Regions from separate parts of the Homo sapiens genome. Here region 1 is linked to region 2. The links are contacts of gene promoters, found by promoter capture Hi-C in blood cells and fetal thymus (Javierre and others, 2016). All regions are on one chromosome and are shown on one strand. Each heading gives the region's core, a stretch centred on a gene start or on the middle of the fragment in contact. The rest is flanking DNA. Distances are from core to core; before and after follow the strand shown. Region 1 holds the start of PIK3C3 (phosphatidylinositol 3-kinase catalytic subunit type 3). Region 2 holds the start of PIAS2 (protein inhibitor of activated STAT 2).

Evidence for each region. The method cuts DNA at HindIII sites, captures the fragments that hold promoters and counts their contacts. A CHiCAGO score of 5 or more calls a contact.
Region 1: the fragment with the promoter of PIK3C3 here is called in contact with the fragment with the promoter of PIAS2 in region 2 in 3 of 17 cell types (non-activated CD4 T cells, fetal thymus and naive CD8 T cells); the score reaches 6.2 in non-activated CD4 T cells.

Annotation. Positions count from the first base shown.
Region 1 is chr18:41,951,463-41,957,914 of GRCh38, forward strand. PIK3C3 (phosphatidylinositol 3-kinase catalytic subunit type 3) reads left to right here and starts at 3,772. Exons shown (of 25, transcript NM_002647.4): 1 at 3,772-3,897; 2 at 6,108-6,296. The coding sequence starts at 3,830. RefSeq lists an enhancer at 3,550-3,729. The HindIII fragment of the contact is 3,603 bases long and covers 2,509-6,111 here.
Region 2 is chr18:46,912,518-46,918,955 of GRCh38, forward strand. It overlaps PIAS2 (protein inhibitor of activated STAT 2), which reads right to left and starts at 4,990. Exons shown (of 14, transcript NM_004671.5): 1 at 4,805-4,990. The coding sequence starts at 4,828. It overlaps KATNAL2 (katanin catalytic subunit A1 like 2), which reads left to right and starts at 5,085. Exons shown (of 18, transcript NM_001387690.1): 1 at 5,085-5,409. RefSeq lists silencers at 4,360-4,439, 4,510-5,249 and an enhancer at 4,386-5,139. The HindIII fragment of the contact is 2,459 bases long and covers 3,216-5,674 here.

The DNA of each region.
Region 1 (6,452 bases), core at 2,522-5,021, 5.0 Mb before region 2:
TCTAAAACACAGTTATTAGAAAACTCACAAAGGCATTTTTTAATTAGAAAAAAAGGAATTATGAGATAGATTTAATCTCACAGCATCATACTTGTTTATTCTTGATGGGAGCTCAGTAACAGACTGTTGCTTTGTAAAGTTATCAGTGCATTTAAAAAAATTTCCAAGCAAAGGGAATAAATTGGGTTATAGAAACTGGCAAAAATAAACCTGATTATCATTATGTCAGTCCTGGGCAATTGAAGAAATGGAGGTCAGGCATGGTGGCTCACGTCTGTAATACTAAACTTTTGGGAGGTTGAGGAGGGAGGATTGCTTGAGCCCAGGAGTTCGAGATCAGCCTGGGCAACACAGTAAGCCCCTATCTCTACAAAAAAAATTTAAAAAGTAGCCAGGCATGGTGGTGCGTGCCTGTAATCCCAGCTGTTCAGGAGGCTAAGGTGGGAGGATTGCTGGAGCCCAGGAGGTTGAGGCTGCAGTAAGCTGTGATTGCACCACTGCACTCCAGCCTGGGCAACAGAGCAAAACTTCGATTCAGGAAAAAGGAAAGGAAGGGAAGGGAGGGGAAGGGAAGGGAAGGGAAGGGAAGGGGGAAGGAAGGAAGGAAGGGAAGGAAAGAAAGGAAGGAAGGAAGAAATGGGGCACAATCAACACATTTCTAAGCCATCATTAAAACTGGTTACTAGAATAATTAAAATAGAAATTGAAACAAGGTGGCAAAAGAAGCACAAAGCCAAAACTGCAACTCCAAGGGAAAATTAAATATGGGATCATATAATAATCATTGGAAGAGCCTACCACACCAAGAAAACACCTATTTCTGTAAGTTATTTTTCTGCAGACAGGCCACCGTGGACTCTTGCAATGCAAATTGTATCCCATAATTATGAGCGTATGTTATATTCATGATTCATGAAAATCACATGGGAAGGAAAAAATCATTCCTCTCCTTTCAAAATAAGATGCTTAAGGCTTCCTTTTCTCTTATAGAGATGGCCTTGTTAATTGAATTCTGATACTCAAGTCTACCAACCAACACTTCCCTGACTTACAGTACAAAAGGCACTGAGAGTTTTGGTTTCTATAATAATTCTTTCCATGCTTCCATGACTTACCAAAATCTTGCTCCTTATTGGCACATTAGTTTTCCTTGATGTATTAACATATTTAATACAACTACAGTCAAGTTTTCTGAGATCCCTCTATAATACATTTTTAATGTTATTTTTTTCTCTTGATAATCTTTAAAAAGTTAAATCTATTTTGGGTTCTGTGAATGAATATCTTATAACTAAGTACTGACATTTGATTTTCATGCTTTTATCTGTGTTGTGTTTGCAACTGTTTTGGAAACAATCAGTATTACTTTAATTGTTATGAGCTAATGAGAAAAGGACAAAGTCAGGCTTAAAACAAAAAGATGTGTTGTAGGCAAGATAAAGCCAGAATACATCATGGTGGTTACACTCATGAAGAGTTCATAGTTATTTGAATAGAGAAAAAGAGTCTAGAAAAATGAATTGCCCTGTGGAATATAGCAGTATAGACGTGCTGAATTTCAAAGAATCAGTCCTGTAAGAGTAGCCAACACTATATTCCATAATCATTTTGCAAACAACAGTTTCCGTAAAAAATCCCACTATTATATTAAGATTGTTAATTTGAAGTTTTTATATTTAATTTGTAAATTTGTTTGGTTGTATATGTATATAATATTATCTTAGGTTTATACATTAAATACCATTACATAATGAAAGTAATTTATTCACCACTGGGATCAGATAATTTACTCCTTTACACATTGTCAATATTTTATTCAAGATTGAGGTTTCACATCAAACCTCACACTCATTGCTGGAGTTATGCCTTAAACAGAGTACTTGTGACAACAGTGTTACTGTTGAATGGCTGTGATAATTAGAAAGTTCAATTTGTATTGTTTGTTGAAATTACATTTCCTGTAAGTTCCAACCATTGGTGGCAGTTATTCTTAGGAACAAATCAAAGGTGCTCTTTTTGTTTAAACTTTAAGTTATAGGAGGATAACTATCATGTTTTTCTTTATTCTACCCAAATCCTTTTCTTGCCTCCATAAATATTTTTGAGAACTTATTTTGTGTAAAACATTCTGCATTAGCCATTTTTTTTCCTTTTCCAGGTTAAACAGCTCCACACCTTTCACCCTTTCTTGGAAATATTTTTTTTCTAATCCCTCAACATTCTAATTACGCCATTTTGCACATACTTTAGTGATGTCCGTCTTAAAATGCAGCACTTAGAAATAAAGACATAGGCTGGGCGAGGTGGCTCACGCCTGTAATCCCAGCACTTTGGGAGGCCGAGGAGGGCGGATCACGAGGTCAGGAAATCGAGACCATCCTGGCTAACACGGTGAAACCCTGACTCTACTAAAAAATACAAAAAATTAGCCGCGCGTGACGGCGGGCACCTGAAGTCCCAGCTACTTGGGGGGCTGAGGCAGGAGAATGGCATGAACCTGGGAGGTGAAGCTTGCAGTGAGCCGAGATCGCGCCACTGCACTCCAGCCTGGGCAACAGAGAGACGGGCACTCCAGCCTGGGCAACAGAGCGACTCTGTCTCAAAAAAAAAAAAAAAAAAAAAAAAAGAAATGACATAGCAGTTTGGGAGGCCAGGGCAGGCAGATCACTGGAGGTTAGGAGTTTGAGACCCGACTGGCCAACATGGTGAAACCCCATCTCTATTAAAAATACAAAAATTAGCCTGACTGGGTGGCGGGTGCCTGTAATCCCAGCTACTTGGGAGGCTGATGCAGGAGAATCGCTTGAACCCAGGAGATGGAGGTTGCAGTGAGCCGAGATGGTGCCAGCCTGGGCGACAATAGCAAAACTCCATCTCAAAAAAAAAAAAAAAAAAGAAATAAAGGCATAGAAAATGGAGACTTTCATTCAATATCATCATTAATAACCAGTAAGTAGGAAGTATTAAACTCAGCAATGCATTAGACAGCTAGCGGGGCAAGACACGGAAGTAAATGGCACACTGGTCTTACCTTCCAAGAGTTTTCAATCTAATTGGAAGGGAGTATTACAATTTTAGATTATAATAATTATAAAAACAAACATTATAGGAGCTCAGAGGGTTTAGAGATCTGTGTTCTGTAGTTATTACAGGAGGCCTCTAGATTCTAACTTGGGTTAGGGCTTGAAACTACATTGAATTTGAATATTCCCAGTTTAAACATGCACGCAAGTATTATGTCCAAAGTAGCATGAATACTGACAACACCAAACATGAAACCCAGATTTATTTATTCTCTATTTAGTCCTTTCCCTACTCTTTAGAGCAGAAAGAGAAAATCCTTGCTTGAGATAGCAAATTAGTGCTACACTTTTTGGGAAGGCCACTGGAATTTAAACCTGGCAAAATTCCAATTTTTGTGCTTGTAACCTGTTTAGCCGGCAGCCAGTGAAAGCTGTTATAATTCTTTTTGAATTGAATTTTCTTTCGTATTGTTTTAGGTACAGCTCAAGCTCAAATGATAGCGTCTCTTTTTCTTTAAAAAAAAAAAAAAGTGCTGTCAAGACAGGAAAACTGGAATGTAACCAGATTAGCCGTTTCCCGTATACATTTGCCCTTAAGCAAGATGGTGGGCGCCTTGTGCACATGCGCGGAAGGGTTGTTTCGGCGGGGAGTTCCGCCGCGTCGGAACTCGCTCCGGGCGTGGATTGGCGGCTTGCTGGCGGGGGCGGAACCGGAAGTTCCGTGTTGTGGGGCTCAGCTGGTTCATTTATGTTGTTTTTCCTGTACCTAAGTTCCCGCTGTAGGTGGTACCTTTGCAGACGGTGCGATGGGGGAAGCAGAGAAGTTTCACTACATCTATAGTTGTGACCTGGATATCAACGTCCAGCTTAAGATGTAAGAGAACACTCGGGACAGGGAGTGGGATTGCTGGGGCGTAGGGACGTGGGGGCAGGGGCCTGTTGGGAGTGAGAGGCAGAAAGTACGTGACTCGTCTCAAGGCCCAGATTGGGGGCGGCTGTGAGGGCTGTAGCCAGGGAGGCGCGAGAGAGTGGATCGTGGAGAGGGGCTCTTTTGGAAAAGGATTTAATACGTGGTCTCCGTGAGAAGCACAGCAGTAGGAATAGCCCTTAAGTTCCGCTGTATTTTACAGTCTTTAAAGTTTTTGCTGTTCAGCCTTTTGAGAGTTTATTACTATTTCATTGTAAATTAAGAAATCAAGTCTCGTCGTAAGTAAGAGGACGATCTTTATTTTGGAACGGGGCTTGTAGGGTGGAATGAAGGCTTCAGAAATTATGGAGAGGTAGACACAGGCAGATGCGATAGTTGAGAATAAGATGAGCACATGGTGTATTAGCACGGGAGGTGATAGAGGCCTAGAGTGAATCTTTGGGTAGTATGGCAGTGTTTAGTCAGGGAAGTTGGGAGTAAGTCGAAGATGAGGGTTCCAGTTTCAAAGGTACCAAGAAGATAGGAGAAAAGAGTCTTTGCAGGAAAACGTTGGGGCACCACGGCTGAAGTAAAGGTCAAGGGCGTGATATCTTGAGATGAGGATAATAGAACTGGTATAATGACGAGGGATGCACAAGACAGAGTTGGAAATTATGTCCCTTTTAAGGTGGTCATGTAGGAGTGTTGTCAAAGCTATCACAAATTATTGACCATAGCATCATCCATAATTAATAAACATTTCTTGTGTATGTTCAATTAATATTCAACAAATATGTGTCGGTCAAAGGCCTGCAGTAAGTGATAGATAAATTTTCTCAGTTGTCTGATGTACCTTTGAATGATCATTTCATTTTATTTTCAGAAGTCCCTTATTCGCTGACAAATACTTTACTTTTTAGTTTGTGGTGGTGGTGGTAAAAGTAATATGTCAACAACCACCTTGTACCTTTGTATGATACTTTATACACTCATTTAAGGTATTTTCCATAGCATACACCACTAGTAGTTTATACAGGATCAATATTGATAAAGGGCTTTCCTTCAGCTTGATGCTCAGTATTTCTTGGATATATGAATGCATTTTTTGAAATGTTTGAACATTAAAAATAAAGAAAAAGCCAAAAAAACCGGTCCCTTTTTTTTTTTTTTTTTTTTTTGGAGACAGGGTCTCACTCTGTCTCCTTTCCCTTTGGGATGACGTTCTGCTTCTTTTGCTTCAACTCTCATGCATTGTTCAGGATCATTTCAGACATCTATCTGGGGTACTAAGTCCCTTCCCCATGCCAGCCTAAGTACTCTTGAGACTCTGATTTATCTTACTGTAATGGGAAGAATATTGGCTTTGGCCTCCCTGCCCTAGTGTTTATTCTCAGCTCTGTTACTTACGTTGTGACTGTGGATAAGGAGTTTAGTTTATAAGTCTCTGTTTCCTCATTTATAAAATGAGAATATGGTGAAAATTATGTAAGAAAGAAAATATAAAATGCCTGGCACAGTATCTGATGTAATCTTGATGTCTAAAAAATGTTCCTCCCTCTGTGATAGTATCCTGTGCATATCTATTTATGACTTATACCACTGTTTTAAAGAAATGATCAGACAATGCATATGCATAGTAAAAGAAAAAAATGGAAAGAGTAGAATAAAAACATGCAGTTAAAAGTAAATTTTTTTCCCCAGAAGCAATGACTTAATATTTTATTGTAATACTGTATTGCTTATCTTTTCTTTCTTCTGGGCTTCTTTGTCCACTATGGTAAATGTTTCCTGAAAGAATAGATGAATATGTGGTCAACTTGAAATGAAGAAAATGAAACCAAGGCCTAGAAAGCTGGTGACTTCCAGAGGGTAGATCAAGGGTCAATGGCAGCGTTTAAAATTCAGAAGTATAAAATAGAGAAATGTGTTGATGAAGATGGGACTGATATTAGGTATGTTAGGATTTTAAGAAACCCTTATCATATATAAAAATGACATTAATTTCATATACAGGAAAATGTTGTTTAGGTAGCATACCTTAACACAAAGGTAAACTTTTTAGTACTTATGCATATATGTACATGCTTAAAGCATATATGTACATGCTTAGTACTTATGTATATATGTACATGCTTAAAAAATTCATGTCTGAAACATTGTTGGTCTTGTGCTTTCAGAGGAAGCTTGGAAGGGAAGAGAGAACAAAAGAGTTATAAAGCTGTCCTGGAAGACCCAATGTTGAAGTTCTCAGGACTATATCAAGAGACATGCTCTGATCTTTATGTTACTTGTCAAGTTTTTGCAGAAGGGAAGCCTTTGGCCTTGCCAGTGAGAACATCCTACAAAGCATTTAGTACAAGATGGAAGTAAGTTTTTTTGTGGCATATGGTATGTTACAGACTGTTCTTACCTTTCTTTATGGATGCTGCAAGTATAATTTAGTAGGATTATAGAGGAATTTCTTAATACCTATAGGCATTGATCAAATCATTTGAAGTAGAAACATACTCAGATAAAGTATT
Region 2 (6,438 bases), core at 3,740-6,239:
CCAAATATACTGTCTAAAAGTGATAGGTCAATAAACAGAAATTTATAATAAAAAGTTAAAAATAACAGCAAAATTAGGAACCAAAATGTAACTGATAGAAATCAAAGTCTAGGACAGGTGGAAAATGACCTAAATTTCTTATCTAGCAAAAAGTTAAGAAATATTTTTTTTGAGTTGAAAAAATATAGAGAGAAAGGCATGGTATATTTTTAGACTTTTGGAACAACAATAAAACCCTAAAAACAAACAAACAAAAATGGTTAAAAGCATAATGGGAGTGGGATTTAATGGAAAAGGGAAGACTTTCACTATTTTGAATTTTTTCAGTACTGTCTGCACAAATATTGCTTTCATTTAAAAAATATGAGAAATGGAAATGAGAGAATAAAAAATGTGACATCAGGTGATCCACCCGCCCCAGGCTCCCAAAATGCTGAGATTACAGCCTTGAGCCACTGCGCCCAGCCTATTTCACTTTAAGTTAAATATATTTTGTTTCGAACGTGCTTTCATAGACATGAGCTCAGGTGAAGCCTTGGAAATTTTAGTTGCATCCCATAATAGCTTTGAATCATATGGAAGATTCTGTTATATCTATCATAGCTATTAGTCTGTATCCCTGCCCAATAAATGGGGAGAGGAGCGTGATGAGGACCTCTAACCTCAAATCCCCCATTAACTTCCCATTCTCCTGCTGCATCCTAACAGCACTTGAAGTTATCAGGATGGTGACTCCTGGTAGGTGTAAGGAAACCAAACACTTAAGCCTTCTAGACAGAAGACCTTCTGTTACAGAATTACTTAGGCTTCTTAGCATGAAAGACCCAAATCTGATCTTCGAATTATGACACAACAAATTTACCCAGTTTGGTAAATGTTCTGGTTTACCCAGTATCTATTGATAAAGTTATCATCGCTGGCTCTCTCAGGCCAAATGCACAACCAGATTCTCACAGGCACATTCTCTCTCATTCTGAGACACACACAGAATAAATTCTCAATGCATGAAAAGAAGGGGATGAAGAATACAGAAGGGAGATCCTTAAAAAAAAAAAAAAAGTCACTACAATAGATCCCCCTCCTCCCCATTGAGTGATGAGAAGTAGGGAAAGTAGATTAACCAGGTTAAAGTGTAGCAGGGACCTTTTTGTGAATGACTGCCACCAGCAGACCACAATATTGGAAATATGCAACTGGAAGGGTAAAGAAAAAGCTGCTCTGGTTAAAGAAGAGGTAAGTGATTCCAGAAACTCAACTCCTGCTCTCCTCCATCCCTGTGCTTAGCTCTTCTACAGACTAGTTTGAGACAGGGTCTCCCTCTGTCGCTCAGGCTGGAGTGCAGTGTCAAGATCAGAGCTAGCTGTAACCCAGAAATCCTGGCTTCAAGCGATCCTCTTGCCTCTCAAAGCGCTGGAATTACAGGTGTGAGCTACCAAGCCCTGCCCTCCAGACCATTTTTGGAGGAGGAAGCAAGGCAGCAGTGACAGAAGTTCAGGCCATCAAATCTTATGATCTTGTCCCACATTAATTCACAACTAGTTAATTCAAAATCTGTTCATTCACAAACTAATCACTCCTTCAGCTCCTAACAACACAGATGCCATAAATAAGCAACTGGTAAATTGAGTAATTTCTTCTCTGGCACCTTGAAAGCTTCTAATATATAACACATTATTGTAACCATCTTTGAGCACACAGGCCACATTTTCCCTTTTCAGAGAACTTCCCCACTTCCTTTCCTTCAATCCATCAGGATAATCTGCTGATCAGGTTTGTGTGCTTTGACTCTAAGCCCCCGGCTATGGATGATTAGAACAGAAGTAGAGACCTAAACTCAGCCAATCAGATTCTCTCTCCCAGAAGAACTGGAAGAGAGGTGGGCTGGTATTCTGGTCACCCGGACTGAAAGGCAACAAGGTATAGAGCTGCCATATTCTGCTATGACCAGCCAAGATCTCTGGTACTGGCTCACGCAGCAGTCTCCAAAACTGAAATAGTCAGGCGACCCCCTTAACAGTTGCCTAATCGAATAACCAACCCTCCCCCCCCCAACTCCACCCCCGACACACAAGTCTGAAAAGCAAAGGCACCAGGGTCACCAAACCACACTGAGGATTACCTTTCCCAAAATTCCCTATCTCCAGTATAGATGCAGCACTAGCCAGGATATGAACTGCTCTGGTTATACTTGTCCAAAATGAGTAGCCTTGAAGGGTAATGGAAATCCTCTCTGTGGCATATCAGCAGCCAAATATGTGGCATCCAGATCGGCTGACCAATTTCTCTACTGCCAAGAAGTTAGCCAACAAACTAATGCCCAAAATTTTTCCTGGTCCTATAATTTACTTGAGCATCACTCTGACCACCACAATATATTCTGATCCAAGGACCATCATTTTGAGAATCCAAGATTATTTCTTCCCCTTTTCTTTCTTTCTATTCCGTTTTTTAGTCTGTTTTTCTTCCTTTATTATAATGTCACACAAGAAGGATGTTACCAATCATTTAATTTAGGAGCAATCGCAGGATGATGGCTAGAAGCTCCACCTAGACCCCAAGGTACCAGAACAAAGTAGTGTAGCCCGGGCTCTGAAAAGCCCAGACTCTAAAAGCTACATGTCTAAGATTAAAAATCTTAGCTTTTCAAATCTCAAGCTGTGTGATTTAGGTCAGGTTAACCTCTCTGTGCTTCAATTTCTTGAAAAAATTGTGAGAATTAAATAAGTATAGAAAAAATGCTTAGACCAGAACCAGGCATGGAATAACCACTATATTAAAATGGGTATATACCATCATCATCATTACTGTCTGTAATGGGATGTAAGGGCGGGGTACAGTTCATCTTCAAGTGTAGGGTAACATGGGTCTGCACAGAGCAGTTAAGGCAAAGAAAAGCAGATGATGCTTACTGCATGTGCCCAGCCTGCACCCCTCACTCCTCTGAAAATTCTCCCCAGTTAGTCTCTGTTGGGCACGTCATATGAATTGTGGGAGAGGGGCCATCTTCTAAAAATGCAAGAAGTAAAGACAGCTGATTTACAGGAAAAGAGGATGAAGCTGATCCACAAACCAAAACAGAGAGGAAGGCAGAAAGGAAGAGAAAAAAAAGCTTCTTTGGTTTCTATCACTTTCCAGTTGCTGGTTGCACTCCAATCTGAGCACTGACTGCTTTTACTCTGCTCTATAAGAGCGAGTAAATTCTTCGCTTTACATTAAGCTTTGGCCAACAACATTCACAAGAGTCTAATAAAAATCCTGGAAAGTTTTCATTAACAAAAAAAAAAAAAAGAACTTAGAAAACTTGTATACATCTGTTACTACACAAAAATTAAAAATGGCAGGTAAAAATAAATATAACTTCAGAGTTCAGTCTTCTCAACCCATCCTAAATCTAACGCATGAATTTACAGAGGTGAGGTTCAGGGTTCGTTGTTTGAAAAGCTCCACAGGTGTTAAAAGCTCTACAGCTGGGGCTCTGAGCCACTAAAACCCTTAAACTTATCAAGTATGAACACCCTTTACCTACACTTATGGTTCTCTGCATAAACTAGTATGGGGCATAACATGTATTAATATGTGTTTACTGGGAACTTAATAATTATTTTTGAAACAGCAGGAGGGAATATGGCAGGCACTGTGCAAACTCCAACAATCTCCGTTTAGAGCAGAGGATACGTTCTTTTGCTCACGTCCACTAAGCAGGTAACCAGCCAACATCCTTCCCCCATCCCATCTCTTGCGGAAAACAATAAATATACAAAACTGAACCTTTTACCGGATTCCTCTTCCTTATTTGAAAAAGAAATCCTAATATCATAAGTGTTACACAAACGAGTTGCAGTAAATGTAATTTCAAGTTTACACTCATCTCTACCTTGATACATTTAAAAAAAAAAAAAATCAGGGTTTCTGTCCGTAAACATCTCATTTATGTCGCCAGTAATTCAGCGATACACACAAATCCATCTCATTCGTCACACTTAGTTAGGACTTTAAAGGTTATCAGTCTGGGGGGAAAAAGTCTCTTCTGTTCTACCCCCATCACAGCCCTATTCCAGACCTCTGCTATACAAGGGTATCAACAATAAAGTTATGATCTTGTTTTAAGACTGAGAAGAAAAAAATATTTTTCCTCAAGAGTAAAAGGGGTGCACAAACCTCACAACATAGACTTTGCAGATTTCTTACTAAAACACTAAGAAAATATCGAGGTTTAAGGCCGATTATTGAAGGCAGGGATCCCCAAACATTAGGTTCCTCGAAGATGTTAGGAGGCAAGGGTGGGAGAAGGGGCCTTTTCTCGTGACAGACCTGACTAAACGGTAGCATCAGCCATAAGAAGAGGAGAGATTCCTAAACGCAACTTCAGCTTTCAGAAAACAGTCCTCCACCAAGTGAGTAGCATGCAGACTTGTGAATAGCCACAGACACGTACACCCCGGTGAAGGTGCAAGATCAAACGTTGCTTCCCACATCGGCCCTCACTGCGAACCGGGATGTCGGGTCCCCATGTGCCCCTCCTGGAGGGCGCCCCGACCCCCCGCGCCAGGTGTGCGGACCACTGGCAGCACTCAGGAGCCGGCTCGCCGCGGCCCAGGCCCGCCGCCCCCGCGCCGCCCGCGTGCCCTCCGCCGGCCCGCTCCCCTCCCCCGCGCCCTCGGCGCCCGTTCGTCCGCGGGCCGGGGCTCAGGGCTCCGCCAACCGGCCCCAGAGGCACGAGCAGGCGGCGGCCGGCGACGTTGCGGTTTCCCCACCTCCTCTCCCATCCCCTCCCCCGCGGCCTCCGCTCTCCACTCCCGCTTACCCTCAACTCTTCGAAATCCGCCATTTTATACCACCCGCGGGCGCCGCCGCCGCTGCCGCCGCACCCACTCCCGCTGCCGCCAACGACGCTGCCGCCACCACGGCCGCCGCCGCCTCCAGCACCATCCTGCACTGGGCGCCGCTTAAGACGCCGCGGCCGCCGCCGCTACAGCCGGGCCCGTCACGTGAACGGCGCGGGAGCTCCGCCTCCGACGCGCCGAAGCCCCGCCCCTAGCGGTGCCCCCTGCCCACCCGCGCGACCGCCTTCCGCCCGCGCCTTCAGTCCGCGCGGCGACAGCGCCCGCCCGCGCCTGCCCCGGCGTGCTGCCCCGCGGCTTGGCCCCGCTCGGCCCCAGGTCGTGCCTTCCCTCCCCGGCGGAGGCCCCTGCGGACTGCCTAGAGCTGGGTCGCAACTGAGGCGTTATCCGCGGGCCTGGCCTCGGGAAGTGGCGGGGAGGAAGAAGAGGCGGCCGGGACGCGTGACAGGAGCATTCGGGAAGATTCTTACGGTGCCCTTCACGCGGTGCCTATGGACGGAGAAAGCCGCCGCAAATAAAACCATCCCCCAGAGTAGTTGTGGCGGAATAATCTAAATATGGGTGTTGGGTAAGCTATTGTTCCCATCTAATGGTGAGGTTGTGTGACACCTCTTTGAATTGCTAATGTCCTGCAAGTACCAACCTTGCCGAGTTTTTCTGACCTTGAAGGGCACCTGAAGGTCACGGACTGCAGAGTTGGGAGAGTTAGGCGGTGGGGTTGGGGGCGGGGAGAAGTGAAATAAGAGCGCTCAGAAGGGCCATGCTAAAAAGTCGGGGAAATCTGATAGCTAGGAAGGAGTCAAACGCCAAGGCAGAGTAAGTAGATAGAAGGAAGCTTGATGGCCCCCCCGTAATGTGCTGATATAGGATGAAGGAAGATGCTGAGTCAAGATGGCCAGAAAAATCGCTGGACGGTGTCCAGGGTTCAATTTCCTTGAAGAATTGGGTGGAACCCACACACGAGAGGTCTTTAAAACAATGTAACTTTTAAGGCCCTGTTTAATCAGCCTCCTACCTACCGCCTCTTCCCACTACCCCTCGTTTCATCCGCACTGCACTTCCAGGTCTTCCTTCCACTCCCCTGCCCCCGCACCCCGCAAGTTTTGTTTTTTTGAGACGGAGTTTTGCTCTTGTTGCCCAGGCTGGAGTGCAATGGCACGATCTCGGCTCACCGCAATGTCTGCCTCCCGGGTTCAAGCGATTCTCCTACCTCCGCCTCCCGAGTAGCTGCGATTGTATTTTTGGTAGAAACGAGGTTTCTCCAAGTTGGTCAGGCTGGTCTCCAACTCCGGACCTCAGGTGATCCGCCCGCCTCGGCCTCCCAAAGTACTGAGATTACAGGCGTGAGCCACTGCACCCGGCCTCCCCTCAAGTTTTAAGGCTTCTAAATGTTGATCCTTGAACCAAGAATAATTTCCCACTCTCTTCTTTGTTCCTAACTCCTGTTCATCCTTCAGGTTTCACTTTAAGTGTCACTTCCTCAGGAAGACCATCCCTCACCCACATCCCACATTTTAATTCAAATTCCCCTGTTATGACCTCTCCTAGGACCCTGAACTTTTTCTTCCTGAGATGTCTCCATGGTAATTATGTAGGT